Linked DNA regions of Homo sapiens: region 2 is linked to region 1. The links are contacts of gene promoters, found by promoter capture Hi-C in blood cells and fetal thymus (Javierre and others, 2016). All regions are on one chromosome and are shown on one strand. The core of a region is centred on a gene start or on the middle of the fragment in contact, and the rest is flanking DNA. Distances in the headings are between cores, read along the strand shown. Region 1 holds the start of METTL5 (methyltransferase 5, N6-adenosine). Region 2 has its middle 35 kb from the start of BBS5.

Region 1 (7,056 bases), core at 2,693-5,192:
TCCTTTTAGACAGAGGTTCACGTATCAGTGAGTGAACAAAGTGCCCTTAACTGGAGAAGACCTAACACTTGATTCCTGGTTCGCTCAGTATTTTGTTTGTTCTCCTGGTATGGAGGGTATTCTGTAACTGACTGCTCAGTAGCCCAATTCTAAATGTCATTCCAGCATACCAAATAATCCACTGACAGCTCAACAGTCACTTTTCATGCAGGCCCCTCCCCTTCCCTCCTCCCTCAACCCTCAAGAGCTCCTTCTCTCACAGTGACAGACACACTGGCAGTTCAGAAGACCTTTTCCTCAAGCGTCCTTCCCTGCACGTACAAGACCACCTCCCCAGCTCTCATCATCCCGCGAGCCAATACGGTCCCCAATAACATCCCCTCCCAGCCAATCCAAATCACAACCTAAGTCTCTTCCCAAGAACCAGGCTTTACAGCCTTTCCCAACAAGTACACACTTGACAGCTCGACACGAGCTTCCCCAAAAATCATTTCCCCTCACTCCCCTCCTACCCCATACACTGGCTCTTTTCTCGCTATCATTTACCCACCCTGGCTTCCCCAAAATTCACAGCCCGGTTTCCTAAACATGCTCTCCGCTCTCCTCTCCCCTCCTTCTCCTCCCCACCCCCTTTCCACCGCTGACAGCTCAGTCACCTCCATCCCCCTGTGGCTGCACCCTCCCCCGCACCCTCCCCTTGACAGCTCAGAGTGGGCTCCCAGTGCTCCGCTCCAGGCCCTCCCGCGACGTCCCCGGCCCAGGGTCGCCTCGCCCGCGGGGAGGGCTCCACTCACCCGCTCTCCCGCATCACGTTGCTGTCCCCGCAGTCGCAGGCGCCCCCGGCCTGGCTGCGGAACATGTTGAAGTCGTGTCCGGTGTGGTCGCCCTGGTGGAAGCACTCGGCGCACAGCGACATGCAGGGCGAGATGCCGCACGTCCGGCAGCGGTAGGCCACGAAGTTGGCTGTCCAGACCAGGCCGCAGAGCGCCGCGGGATCGTAGGCCCGCACCGCCGCGCAGAACTCGTCGTAGCCGCCGCCGCCCGCCAGAAGGCACTTACACCACTCCAGGGCCTCCTCCTCGGCCGCCCCCGGACCGCCCCCGCCTCCGGCCGCCGCCGCGTCCTCGCCGCCGGCAGCCGCGGCCAGCGGCCGCTCGGCGCTCAGCACCCGCTCCAGCAGCGCCTGCAGCTCCTCAGCACCTGCGCGGTTGTCCGGCCGGCTGAGGGCCGCCTTGAGGTGCGCGGCGGTGGCCGCCTTGTCTAGGGCCAGCCCCGGCGCGGGCAGCTCGGGCTGTGACGGCTGCTGGCCCCCGACGGCCGCCGCGGCCGCCGCCGCCATGATGAGAGCTCAGAATTTGGAGAGTCCAGGGCCAGCGGCTCCTCCAGGGAGAGTGAGGGAATAGACTGCTGCGATTGCTCGGCCCGCCCAACTCTCGCGATACCCGGAGCGTCCGCGCTCCTCCGCCCGCAGCCCCGCCCCTACACACGCCCCCTCGGGCTGCAGAGCCTTCCTCCCGCCCCTCTCTCCTGGGCGCCTGTGGACCAAGCTAGGCTCCCAACTTTCTAAGTTAAGAGCTACTGAAATAAAGTACTCACCTTATAGGAAATCTTTAATAAGGGCAATTATTTCTTTATTTGCATAGACTACAGGAATTATTCACATCATCTTTCAGATGTACTTTAGGCATCTGCATTTTGTCTGAGATGTACATTCCTACTGTTATCAAAGTCCAGCGGGCGACAGAATGAAACCCCAACTTAAGGAAAACAAAAACTGTAGGAAAAGCAATCCAAAGAAGAACAGAAGGCCAGGCGCGGTGGCTCACGCCTGTAATCCCAGCACTTTGGGAGGCCGAGGCAGGCGGATTACTTGAGGTGAGGAGTTTGAGATCAGCCTGGCTGACATGGTGAAACCCTGTCTCTACTAAAAATACAAAAATTAGCCGGGCATGGTGGCGCACGCCTGTAATCCCAGCTACTCCGGAGGCTGAGGCAGGAGAATCACTTGAACCCAGGAGGCGGGGGTTGTAGTGAGCCGAGATCGCGCCACTGCACTCCAGCCTGGGTGACAAAGCGAGACTCCGTCTCTAAAAACAACAACAACAACAACAACAACAAAGAAGAACAGGAGTGTTTCCAATCCATAACCTTGTGTTTGAAATGAATGAAACATAATTAAAACAGGTTATTCCTGGTCTTCTACATGAGTTAAGTATGTCACGATCATCATATAACAGTGATAAGTTAAATTTGCTCAATAATTTTACGAATCACTAAATTATAAACTAAATAAAACTTTATGTATTAACTTTACATGCTAAAACTTTGTATGTTTTAACTCATTTGATTCTCATAACAGATAACTTTGAATTCTGCTATTCCTAGAAGTAGCAGCCTCAGACACTTCTCTACTTCGTCATCGTCCATTCACTCTTTTTCTTCTTCCTATAATAATGCAAAGAGGTGTCCATCCACAGGCTTAAACGCAATCCTGCAATCCTTTTACTTAACCACTGGATCCTGCCTTCTCAGGATCCCAACTCCATCCAATATCCTCTTGCATTTTTAACCCCTCTCTTTCTATTAGCTCAATTCTTGTCAGAATTTGTCTCCTCCTGTCTTAAAAATAATTGAAAAAATAATAAAGCTTCCCCCATTACTAAGCATCCAACCATTCTTTTCGTAGGCCACCTTTCTCTTTCTCTTTCTTTTCTTCTTTCTTTTTTTTTTTTTTTTTTTTGAGACAGGGTCTCACTGTCGACCAGACTGGAGTGCAGTGGCGCAATTTCAGATCACTGGAAGCTTTGCCTCCCGGGCTCAAGCGATTTTCCCACCCCAGCCACCCGAGCAGCTGGGACCACAGGCTCGCGTCATCAGACCCAGCTAATTTTTGTATTTTTAGTAGAGACAGGGTCTCCTTATGTTGCCCAGGCTGGTCTCAAACTCCCGTCTCAAGCAATCCGCCCATCTCGGCCTCCCAAAATGTTGGGATCACAGGGGTGAGCCACCGCTTCCGGGGCCACGTTTAATTGTTCACATTTACTCTTTCTTCTTCCTAAATTTCCATTCGCTCCACAATCTGCTACAACTTAATTTCTGCTCCTACTTTATGAAGCCCGACCTCTTTCCAGTATTTGACACCACTACCTATTCTTTTATTTTCATTTCCACTGTCTTTTTTTTTTTGAGACGGAGTCTCGCTCTGTCTCCCAGGCTGGAGTGCAGTAGCTTGATCTCGGCTCACTACAAGCTCCGCCTTCCGGGTTCACGCCATTCTCCTGCCTCAGCCTCCCGAGTAACTGGGACTACAGGCGCCCGCCACCAAGCCCGGCTAATTTTTTTGTAATTTTAGTAGGGACAGGGTTTCACCGTGTTAGCCAGGATGGTCTCAATCTCCTGACCTCGTGATCCACCCACCTCGGCCTCCCAAAGTGCTGGGATTACAGGCGTGAGCCGCCGCGCCCTGCCTCTCCACTATCTCTTCTTTGGGTTTCTTTGACATCACCACTCCTGTGAGAATTGCAAGTGACACAAATGACCTAAAAATTGGGAAACAAAGTTACAATAAAATAAGGCATGAGAATGGAGAAGGAGGTAAAGGTGAATGGAGATCGCTACTTTTTGAGCCGAGACTTGGGAAACAAGAAGAGTCACTCTGGGCCATACAACAAAGTGACTGTGACTTTCTCTCCCGCATCCCTTTCACTCTGTCTTTCCCCATCCTTTGAGGGCCCGCAGGTACTCATGGCAAACTAGAGGGTAATGAGCACGCGACAGGCGGCGAGGACTGGCGGTGGGTCAGCAAGTAGCGCAGGCTTTGCAGGCGGAGGGGATGGGGCAATGAGGCCCCCAGGTGGCCAGCGGAACCCCGGCTCAAGATAAACGCTGCAGCTCGGCGCCGGGCCGCTGGGCGGCGAACGCGTGCGCGCGTGCGGCCTGGCGCTTCCGGCACCGGCCGAGGTGCGGGTCGCCTCCAGAGGTGCGTGGTCGTGGCGCGAGGGATCCTGAGGCTGCTCCAGCAGTGCGCCGCCGCCGTCTCCTGGGGCGGCTTGGGTTAGCCGGGAGGTGGGTCAGAGGCTCGCCCCGTGCCCTGCGTCCGGGCGTCTCCTTAGGGCGCGTCTTCGGGTCCGGCCAGCGGTGCTGAAAAAGGGAGAAGGTTGGGGGTAGGGAGGAAACAAGATCCCAGTTCAATAGATTTCTCCGCAGATCCTGTGCCTTCAAACCCTACGAGTCCATACTTTAAAACAAAATGAAGAAAGTAAGGCTTAAGGAACTAGAGAGTCGCCTGCAACAAGTGGATGGATTTGAAAAGCCCAAGCTACTTCTGGAACAGTATCCTACCAGGCCGCACATTGCAGGTAGGGCGGCTGGTTCACCACGCCCCGGCTTTCGGCGTTAGTCCAGTCTACTCTGTGATAAAAATAGAACAGTTATTTGGATACAGAGAATGTCTAGAGAAATTCTGCCCTAAGATCACCTGTCGCGTTAGAGAGGCCTTCCTTGACACTGCAGCTCAAGGCACACCCTCCACAGACATACACACTATCATTTTACTGTCTAGTTTTCTGCATATCCCTTAACACTGCCAGACATCTTTTTAATGTGTTTTTTTCTCTTCTCACATTACAATCTCTGAGGACAAGGAATTTGTTAGACTTGTTCATACTTGAATTCCCAGTGCCCAGAAGAGTCGCTGGTACTATTTAGGAGCTCAGTAAACATTTACTAAATAAGGATCAGTTTCCCATTGCTACTAATTGCCTACGCAAGGATTCTTGTGCTATATACTCTGCCCTAGAAATGAATACCAGAGTTGATAGTGGAATGATAGTTTAACAAAATCAGAGTATGTGCTGTGTAAAGATGAGCATGCATATTTTAACAGATTTTCTGAGCATTAGCATTGTTGCTTCATGCCAGATATTGATACTGGGAGTACAAGAGAGAATACAGGACAACATATATTTATGTTACCGAAGTCATTGGGAAACCTTAGGGGAAAAAAATTTTATTATTATTATTTTTTGAGATAAGGGTCTCACTCTGTCACCCAGGCTGGAGTGCAGTGGCATGATCACGGCAACTGCAGCCTTGACCTCCAGGACTCAAGTGATCCTCCTACCTAAGCCTCCCGAGTAGCTGGGACTACAGGCATGCACCGTCATGCCTGGCTAATATTTTTTATTTTTTGTAGAGACAGCGTCTTGCTATGTTGCCCAAGATGGTCTCAGACTCCTGGGCTGAAGCGATCTTCCCACTGGGGCCTCAAGAAGTGCTGAGATTACAGGCATGAGCCACTGAGGCTGGCTCCTTAGGAAAATTAATTTTCTGAGAGTACCTGCAAGGAGTTTTTTCCAGTTCCAAAATAGTTGTTTCTAAGTTGTCAATGAAAGTCAAGGAGAATACATGTGTATTTACACTTAACTCCAAGATACTGTCATGATTCCAACCAAAAATTCACACAAAACTACTGTGTCTAGGTTAAGACCAGTTTTCTCAAATAATGACTTACTAGTCTTCTGACTGTAGGTTTTTTTAGTGGAATCCAGTTTAAAAAATAATAACAATCTGGCCAAGTACAGTGACTCACCCCTATAATCCCAGCACTTTGGGAGGCCAAGGCAAGAGGATGACGAGCCCAGGAGTTCAAGATCAGCCTGGGCAATACAGTGAGACCCCAGCTCTTAAAAAAAAAAAATTAGCCTAGTGTGGTAGTATGTGCCTATAGTCCCAGCTGCTGATACTAAGGCAGGAGAATTGCTTGAGCCCTGGAATTTCAGGCTGCAGTGAGCTCTGATCCGCCACTGCACCCCAGCCTGGGTGATAGAGATAGACCCTGTCTCTGAAAAAAAACAACAAAAAACTTCTGGATCCGCAGGAATCAGTGGCCAACAGTCCTTGCTGGGTTCAGATATCTTCAGGGAAATATCGGTGGTGGTGGTATTCATGTTTGACCTTCAGTGTGTATCTAACACCCAGTAGTTCTATTATCAGGTCTCATTTGTAGATTATGAATATATATGTCTGTAGATCATGAGTATATGTGTCTAAAGGCTACATTGTGGAGCTTATGGTGCTTGTGTTCTGGTGACAAACTTGTTAAAACAAAGTTCTGTGGCTAGGCACAGTGGCTCATGTCTGTAATCCCAACACTTTGGAAAGCCGGGGCGGGAGGATCACTTGAGCCCTGGAGTTCGAGAGCAGCGTGGGCAATATAGTGAGAACCTGTGTTTAAAAAAAAAAGAAAAAAAAAGATTCTATGTCTTTGTGATGCTAATGCTTGTTTGATAGTGGTTCCTAGTCTTATAGATTTCACAGATAAGTAAAATTTCAAAACAATTTTGGAAATTGATAGAGTTGCCAAATTTATGTTGACAAAAAAGGATTTTTTTAAAAACTATTTACTCTTACCATTCTTTCTTAAAAATATTTCAGCATCAAAGAAAGAACCGATATGAGTATATGGCAATGTTTTTAACAAGCTGAGGAAAAACTAAACGTTTTGACTTTTTTTTATTTTACCTCAGAGACTGGGCACAGTTTTGTCATTCTTGGCATTGCTAGCAGAGACTATTTTTTGAGAAACACTGGTGGGTATTAGCTTCCTTTATGGTGCCTCTTACTACATACCAAATCATTACCCCTTATCTTTTACAAAAATAATCTGGAATGGCATTTGGGGAGGACTAAGTAATGCAACACAAGAAATTATTTTAGAAAGAGTCATTTGCACAAATTAGATTTTAGTCACCGGCTTGCTTACTTATTCTTTTTTTTTTTATTTTTTAGCATGTATGCTCTATACAATCCATAACACTTATGATGACATTGAAAATAAAGTCGTTGCAGATCTAGGATGTGGTTGTGGAGTACTTAGCATCGGAACTGCAATGTTAGGAGCAGGGTACGTAATGCAATATATGCTATTTGGGTATTGGGTGGCTTTAATAAGGAGCATCAATGGGATTAACTGAATTATATTTATGAGACTCCACAGAATGAGATATAGGGAGCAAAAATCTGATACTGAATACATTTTGAATGGGCAGAAGATCT
Region 2 (6,561 bases), core at 1,025-3,524, 380 kb after region 1:
ACCTAGAACAGTGCCATCACTCCAAAAACCTCCCTCCCGCTACACATTTGCTGTCATAGCCTCCTGGGACCCCCTAGCCCTGGAATCTACAAATCTGTTTTCTATTACTAAAAGTTTGTCTTTTCATGAATGTTACATAAATGGAATCATTCAGAATGTAATTCTCAATTGTTTTTACTCACAACACTTCTGACATCTAATGTGCATTTTTTTTTTCTCACACTAACCAATTCCCCAACTTTCTGGACACCAACTCGGTGTTCTAAAATTCACTTCAGGCACTGATGCTTGGAGTTGGAAAAGATTCTACTCATTAAGGGTGTAATATCACAAGACAGCCTCTGCTCTGGGCCACCCATACTTAAGGCTGACAGAGGATAAAGTCAGTGAGTTCCCAAAACCCCCTCTTCACGTTCAATAATTTGCTAGAATGGCTCACAGAACTCAGGAAAGTGCTCTACTTACTGTTGCCAGTTTATTATAAAGGATACAACTCAGGATCAGCCACATGGGAGAGATGTGCGGGGTGTGGTAAGGGCAAAGGGGTGCAGAGCTTCCAGGCCCTCTCAGGTGCACCACCCCTTCCAGCACCTCAATGTGTTCACTAACCTGGAGGCTCTCAGAACCCCATTGTTGAGTGTTTTTATGGAGGTTCCATCTATAAACATAAGCAAAATCGATTAAATCATTGGCCATTGGTGATTAACTCAGTCTCCATTCCCTTTCCCCTCCCTAGAGGTCTGGGGATGGGGCCGAAAGTCCCAACCATGTAATCACGTAATTGGTTCCTCTAGCAACCAGTCCCCATCCTGAAGCTATCTAGGAGCCCACTAAGTCACTTTATTAATATAAACTCAAATATGGTGGAAAGGGGCTTGTTATGAACGACAAAAGACATTCCTATCATCCCCATCACTCAGGAAGTTTTAGGAGCTCTGTGTCAGGAACCAGGGACAAAGACCAAATATGTATTTCTCACTGTATCACAGTAACCTTGTGAAACTGGCTTCTTTTACTCAGCATAGTGCCTTTATGATTCATTCAATTTGTGGCATGTATCAGTAGTTTGTTCCTTTTTATTGTTGAGTAGTATTCCATTGTGTAGATGTACCAGAGTTTATTTACCCATTCACCAGTTTAAGGACATTTAGCTGTTTCCAATTTTGGGCAATTATAAATACAACTGCTAAAAATGGTCAAGTACAAGTTTTTGTGTGAATATGTCTTCATTTCTCTAAAGTAAATACTTAGAAGTGAAATTGTTGGGCTATATCTAACTTTATAAAAAATTGTCAAATGATTTTTCAGAGTAGCTGTTTTTGAATTTCCACCAGCAACACATGATTGTTCTAGTTGTTCTGCATCCTTGTCAGCACCTGGTATTGTCAGTAATTTTTATTTTAGCTAGGAGTTTAGTGATATTTCATCCTGGTTTTAATCGACATTTCCCTAATTGCTGAAGATGTTAGATGTTGTACTGTGCTAATTTGCTTTCTGTGTATCCTTTTTGGTGAAATATCTGTACACATCTTTTTCCATCTTTTATTTATTTATTTTTTAAGAGACAAAGTCTTGCTCTGTTGCTCAGGGCTGAGTGCAGGGGTGTGATCATAGCTCACTGCACCCTCAAACTTCCGAGCTCAAGTGATCCTCCCACTTAGCCTCCTAGGTAGCTGGGACTACAGACATGTACCACCATGCCATACTGATTAAATTTTTTTTTTTTTTTTTTGTAGAGATGGGAGTCTCACTATGTTACCCAGGCTGGTCTTGAACTCCTAGGCTCAAGCGATCCTCCCCTCTGGGTTTCCCAAAGTGCTGGGATTACAGGCATGAGCCACTGCCTCAGGCCTTTTTCCATCTTTTAACTGTTTGTTTTTTTACTAATGAATTTTGAGAGTTAAAAAAAATTCTGGATAGAAGTCCTTTACCAGACATACGATTTACAAATAATTTCTCCCAGTTTGTAGCTTTTTTTTCATTCTCTTAACAGTGAACATCTTTTGCAGAGTAAAAGTTTTAAATTTGTTTGAAGTCCAATTTATTAATATTTTCCTTCATAGATTACATTTTTAGTGTCCTATCAAAGAACTTTTTGCCTAAACCCAGGTCATGAAGTTCTATTTATATATATTTCTAAAGATTGTATCACTTTGGGTTTTACATTTAGATTTATAACCCATTTTGAGTTAATTTTTATATATGGTGCAAGTTATGAGTCGAGTGTCATTGTCTTGCACATGGATACTCAATGTTTCCAACACTATTTGTTGAAAAGACTATCCTTTCTCCACTGAAATGCTTTTGCATGTGTGTCAAAATTAATATATGTATGGTTTTGTTTCTGGACTCTATTATGTTTCATTGATTTATGTGTCTGTTCCTTTGCCAATACTACATTCTCTTGATTATTGTAGCTTTGTTTTTTTTAAATTTAATTTAATTTTATTATTATTATACTTTAAGTTTTAGGGTACATGTGCACAATGTGCAGGTTAGTTACATATGTATACATGTGCCATGCTGGTGTAGCTTTGTAGTACATCTTAAAATACAGTAGTGTGATTCTTCCAACTTTATTCCCCCTTTTCAAAATTATTTAGGCTATTTTAGTTCCTTTGCTTTTGCATATAAATATTAGAATCAGATTGTCTATATCTGCCAAATATGTTGCTGGGATTATGATTGGAATGCATTAAACATATGGATCAATTGACATCTTTATTATGTTGAGTCTTTCAGTACTTGAACATGGTATGTCTCTCTATTCATACAGATCTTGATATTTTAAAATCAGTGCTTTGAGGTTTACAGCATACAGAGCCTTTAAAAATTTTTGTTAGATTTATACCTAGGTATATAATTTTTTGGACATATTATAAGTGGTATTGTGTTTTAAACTTCAGTTTCCCTTTGTTTATTGCTAGTAAATGAAAATATAATTGATATTTATGTGTTATCCTTGTAGCCTGCTATTTTGCTAAATTCACTTAGATCTAGGAGGGTTTTTTTTTTTGGGTAAATTCCTCGGGATTTTTACGTTGTTTATGAAACAGTTTTATTTCTTCCTTTCAATCTGTGTGCATTTAATTTAATTTATTTATTTCTTGTTTTATTCTACTGGCTCGGAGTTCTAGTAGAATGCTAAATTGGAGTGTTAAAAGTCTTTGCTCTGTTCTTGACTTTAGAGGAAAAGCATTCAGTCTTCATGATTAAGTATGATGTTAGCTGTAGTTTTGTTTTTTTGAGAATGCTGTTTATCAGATTGAGAAAAAGCCCATCTATTCCTAATTTGCTGAGATTTTTATCTGAGATGGATGTTGAGTTTTAGAAAATGCTTTTTTTTCTGCAGCAATCGAGATCTGATCATATGGTTTTTCTTCTTTAGGCTATTGATATGGTGGATTACACTGATTAATTTTAAAAATATTGAACCAGCCTTGCTTTCCCAGGATAAATTCCACTTAGTTGTGGTATATTTTTCATGTTTTATACTTGCTGAATTAGATTCAATAATATTTTGTGCCTCTCATCATTAAGGCTATTGTTGTATAGTTTTCATGTACTATCATCATCTTCTGGTTTTGTTATCAGGATAATGCTAGTAGCCTCATAAACTTTGCTGAGAAGAACTCACTTCTCTTTTCTTTCCTGGAAGAGATTGTATGGAATTGATGTAATATCTTCTTTAAATGTTTTATAGAATCTGCCAGTGAAACCATCTGAGTCTAGAAATTTCTTTCTTTCTCTTTTTTCTTTTTTTGAGACGGAGTCTCGCTCTGTCACCCAGGCTGGAGTGCAATGGCCCGATCTTGGCTCACTGCAGGCTCCGCCTCCCGGGTTCACGCCATTCTCCTGCCTCAGCCTCCTGAGTAGCTAGGACTACAGGCACTCACCACCATGCCCGGCTAATTTTTTGTATTTTTAATAGAGACGGGGTTTCACCGTGTTAGCCAGGATGGTCTTGATCTCCTGACCTCGTGATCTGCCCACCTTGGCCTCCCAAAGTGCTGGGATTACAGGCGTGAGCTAGAAGTTTCTTTTTAGAAGGTTTTCAACGACATGTTCCATTTCTTTAATAGTTACAGAAAAATTCAGATTGTCTATTTCATCTTGGTTGCATTTTGGTATTTTGAGGTTTTAAGGAACTGGTTCATTTCATCTTTGTTGTTCCATTTATGTGCTTAGAATGGTAGCATTCCCTTATACCTTAAACATCTGTGGGGTCTATAGTGATCCCATCTTTCTTTCCTGATATTGATAATGTGTGTCTTTTCTCCTTTTTTCTTTGTTGATCTTGATAGAGAATTTTAAATTTTATTGATCTTTTCAAAGTACTAGCTTTTGGTTTTATTTTGTCTAGTCTTCTTTCTTCCAGTTGCCCTTTTTTGGTTTGGTTAGTTTTAATTTCATTGATTTCTGCTTTTACCTTTATTATTTTCTTCCTTTTGCATGCTTTGAACATATGTTGCTCTTCTTTTTCTAGTTTTTAAAAATAGAATCTTAGCTAGTGGATCTGAGATCATTCTTCTTCTTAATATGAGCACATAATGGGTATAATTTCACCTTTAAACACTGCTTTACCTGTACACCACAAATTTTTACATTTTATTTTATGTTTCATTTAATTCAAAGTATTTTCTAATTTCTCCTGAGGCTTCCTCTTTGATCTGTGGGTTGTTTAAAGATCTACTGTTTAATTTAAAAGTGTTTAAAACTTTTTTTGGTATTATTGATTTTTAGTTTAATTTTCTTATGGCCAAAGAACTTTGTGTGATTTCAACTCTTTTACTTTTGATAAGGTTTATTTTATGACCTAGTATATGCTCTATCTTGATGAATATTCTGTGTGCCTATATAAAGACTATCATGTTGTTATGGGGTAAAATATTCTATTAATGTTGATTAGATACAGTTCTTTAATAGCATTGTTCAGTTCTGTGTCCTTGCTGATTTTCTGTCTACTTGTTCTAACGATTACTGAAAGAGGAGAGTTGAAATTTTCAACTATAATTGTGGGTTTGTCCATTTTTCCTTCCAGTTTTGTTAGTTTTTGCTTCATGTATTTTAAAGCTTTGTTGCTAGGTATATTATCACTTAGGATGGTTATATATTCTTGGTTAATGGACAATGTCCCTTTTTATCCCTGGTAATTGTCTTTGCTCTGAATTCTTCTCTGCTATTAAATAGTCACTCTAGCTTTAAAGTTTTTTTTTTTTAATTAAGGCTATCATTTTTTCCACCCATGTATTTTTTAAAAATTTATTTATTGATTAAGAGAGAAGGTCTCACTATGTTGCCCTACATGCATTCTGACAGAGAGGGAGGGCATTACATAAAGAAAAAGGGGTCCATTCACCAAGAACACATAACAATTCTGAATGTGTACACACCTAACAACAAAGCTTGAAAATACATAAAGCAAAAACTTACGAAACCTGAAAAAGCAATAGACAAATTTACAGTTAAAACTGGGAGCTTCAATCTTCATCCCCCAAGAATCAATAGAATCAACAGCATACCATAACCTTTTTTTTTTTTTTTTTTTTGAGATGGAGTCTTGCTCTGTCGCCAGACTAGAGTGCAGTGGCGTGATCTCAGCTCACTGCAACCTCTGCCTCCTGGGGTCAAGCGATTCTCCTGCCTCAGCCACCCGAGTAGCTGAGATTATAGGCATGCACCACCATGCCCAGCTAATTTTTGTATTTTTAATAGAGACGGGGTTTCACCTTGTTGGCCAGGATGGTCTCGATCTCTTGACCTCATGATTCGCCGGCCTCGGCCTCCCAAAGTGCTGGGATTACAGGCATGAGCCACAGAGCCTGGCCCCATAACCTTTGAGAACATAAACAGTTACGTACAGGCTGTGATTTCTGATCAATCCGCTCTGGGTGTGGTTCCAACGTTAGTTCAGTTTTTAAAGCCTATGCAATGCTCCTTGTTTCTGTCCCTTGTATGTGCCACCCAATGTACAGTCTGGGAGCTGGGCTGCAGTCTGTCCCACCTTTCAGTTCTCAAAGTCTATGATATGCTGTTAAGGGTCAGATTCATGCACACACCACTCAGGAATAAGCTCCAGAGCCTAGAAACGACTTTATTGGGTCACACTTCCTAGCTCCTCCCTCTCTACGTTCTCCTCAGAATTTTCAGTTTCCTTCATCTTTTTAGTTCTCCAGCCCAAAAAACTGAGTTTTAAGTTAGCCCAGTCTGTGTGTATTCAGAGTCAAATAGTAGGAGGCTAGAGAGAGAAAAAACCAACAGGGATTTGCCCCACTTTGGGGGACCACAGCTCCTCTGATCAGAGAGGAACATTCTGTACTTCAGAGTTTTAGGGACCTGCAGCCTCTGCTGCCACCACTGTCTTTGCTGCAACTGTTGTCATGGGATCGTCTGGCTTCTGGGGCATGACAGAAAAATGAACAAAGGAAAATGATGAATTGCCCCCATCTCGATGAGTGTTAGAATTCTCCTTTCCCACTCCTGGACCCAAAACTAGAGGGCTTTTCTTGAAGCACTCTCTGTCTACATCTGGGTGCCCACTTCAGAGTTTCAGACTTCCCT

What was found. Contacts are between HindIII fragments. The CHiCAGO score rates a contact against its expected background, and 5 or more counts as called.
Region 2: a contact is called between a fragment that was not itself captured here and the fragment with the promoter of METTL5 in region 1, in 1 of 17 cell types (M2 macrophages). The highest score is 5.3, in M2 macrophages.

Annotation. Positions count from the first base shown.
Region 1 is chr2:169,821,791-169,828,846 of GRCh38, reverse strand. METTL5 (methyltransferase 5, N6-adenosine) reads left to right here and starts at 3,942. Exons shown (of 7, transcript NM_014168.4): 1 at 3,942-4,358; 2 at 6,790-6,904. The coding sequence starts at 4,250. It overlaps UBR3 (ubiquitin protein ligase E3 component n-recognin 3), which reads right to left and starts at 1,393. Exons shown (of 39, transcript NM_172070.4): 1 at 795-1,393. The coding sequence starts at 1,339. RefSeq lists silencers at 650-779, 1,040-1,599, 3,193-3,396. The HindIII fragment of the contact is 10,424 bases long and covers 2,805-7,056 here.
Region 2 is chr2:169,441,206-169,447,766 of GRCh38, reverse strand. No RefSeq gene overlaps it. Among named protein-coding and RNA genes, the nearest start is that of BBS5, 35 kb to the left of the region's middle. The HindIII fragment of the contact is 5,603 bases long and covers 1-5,075 here.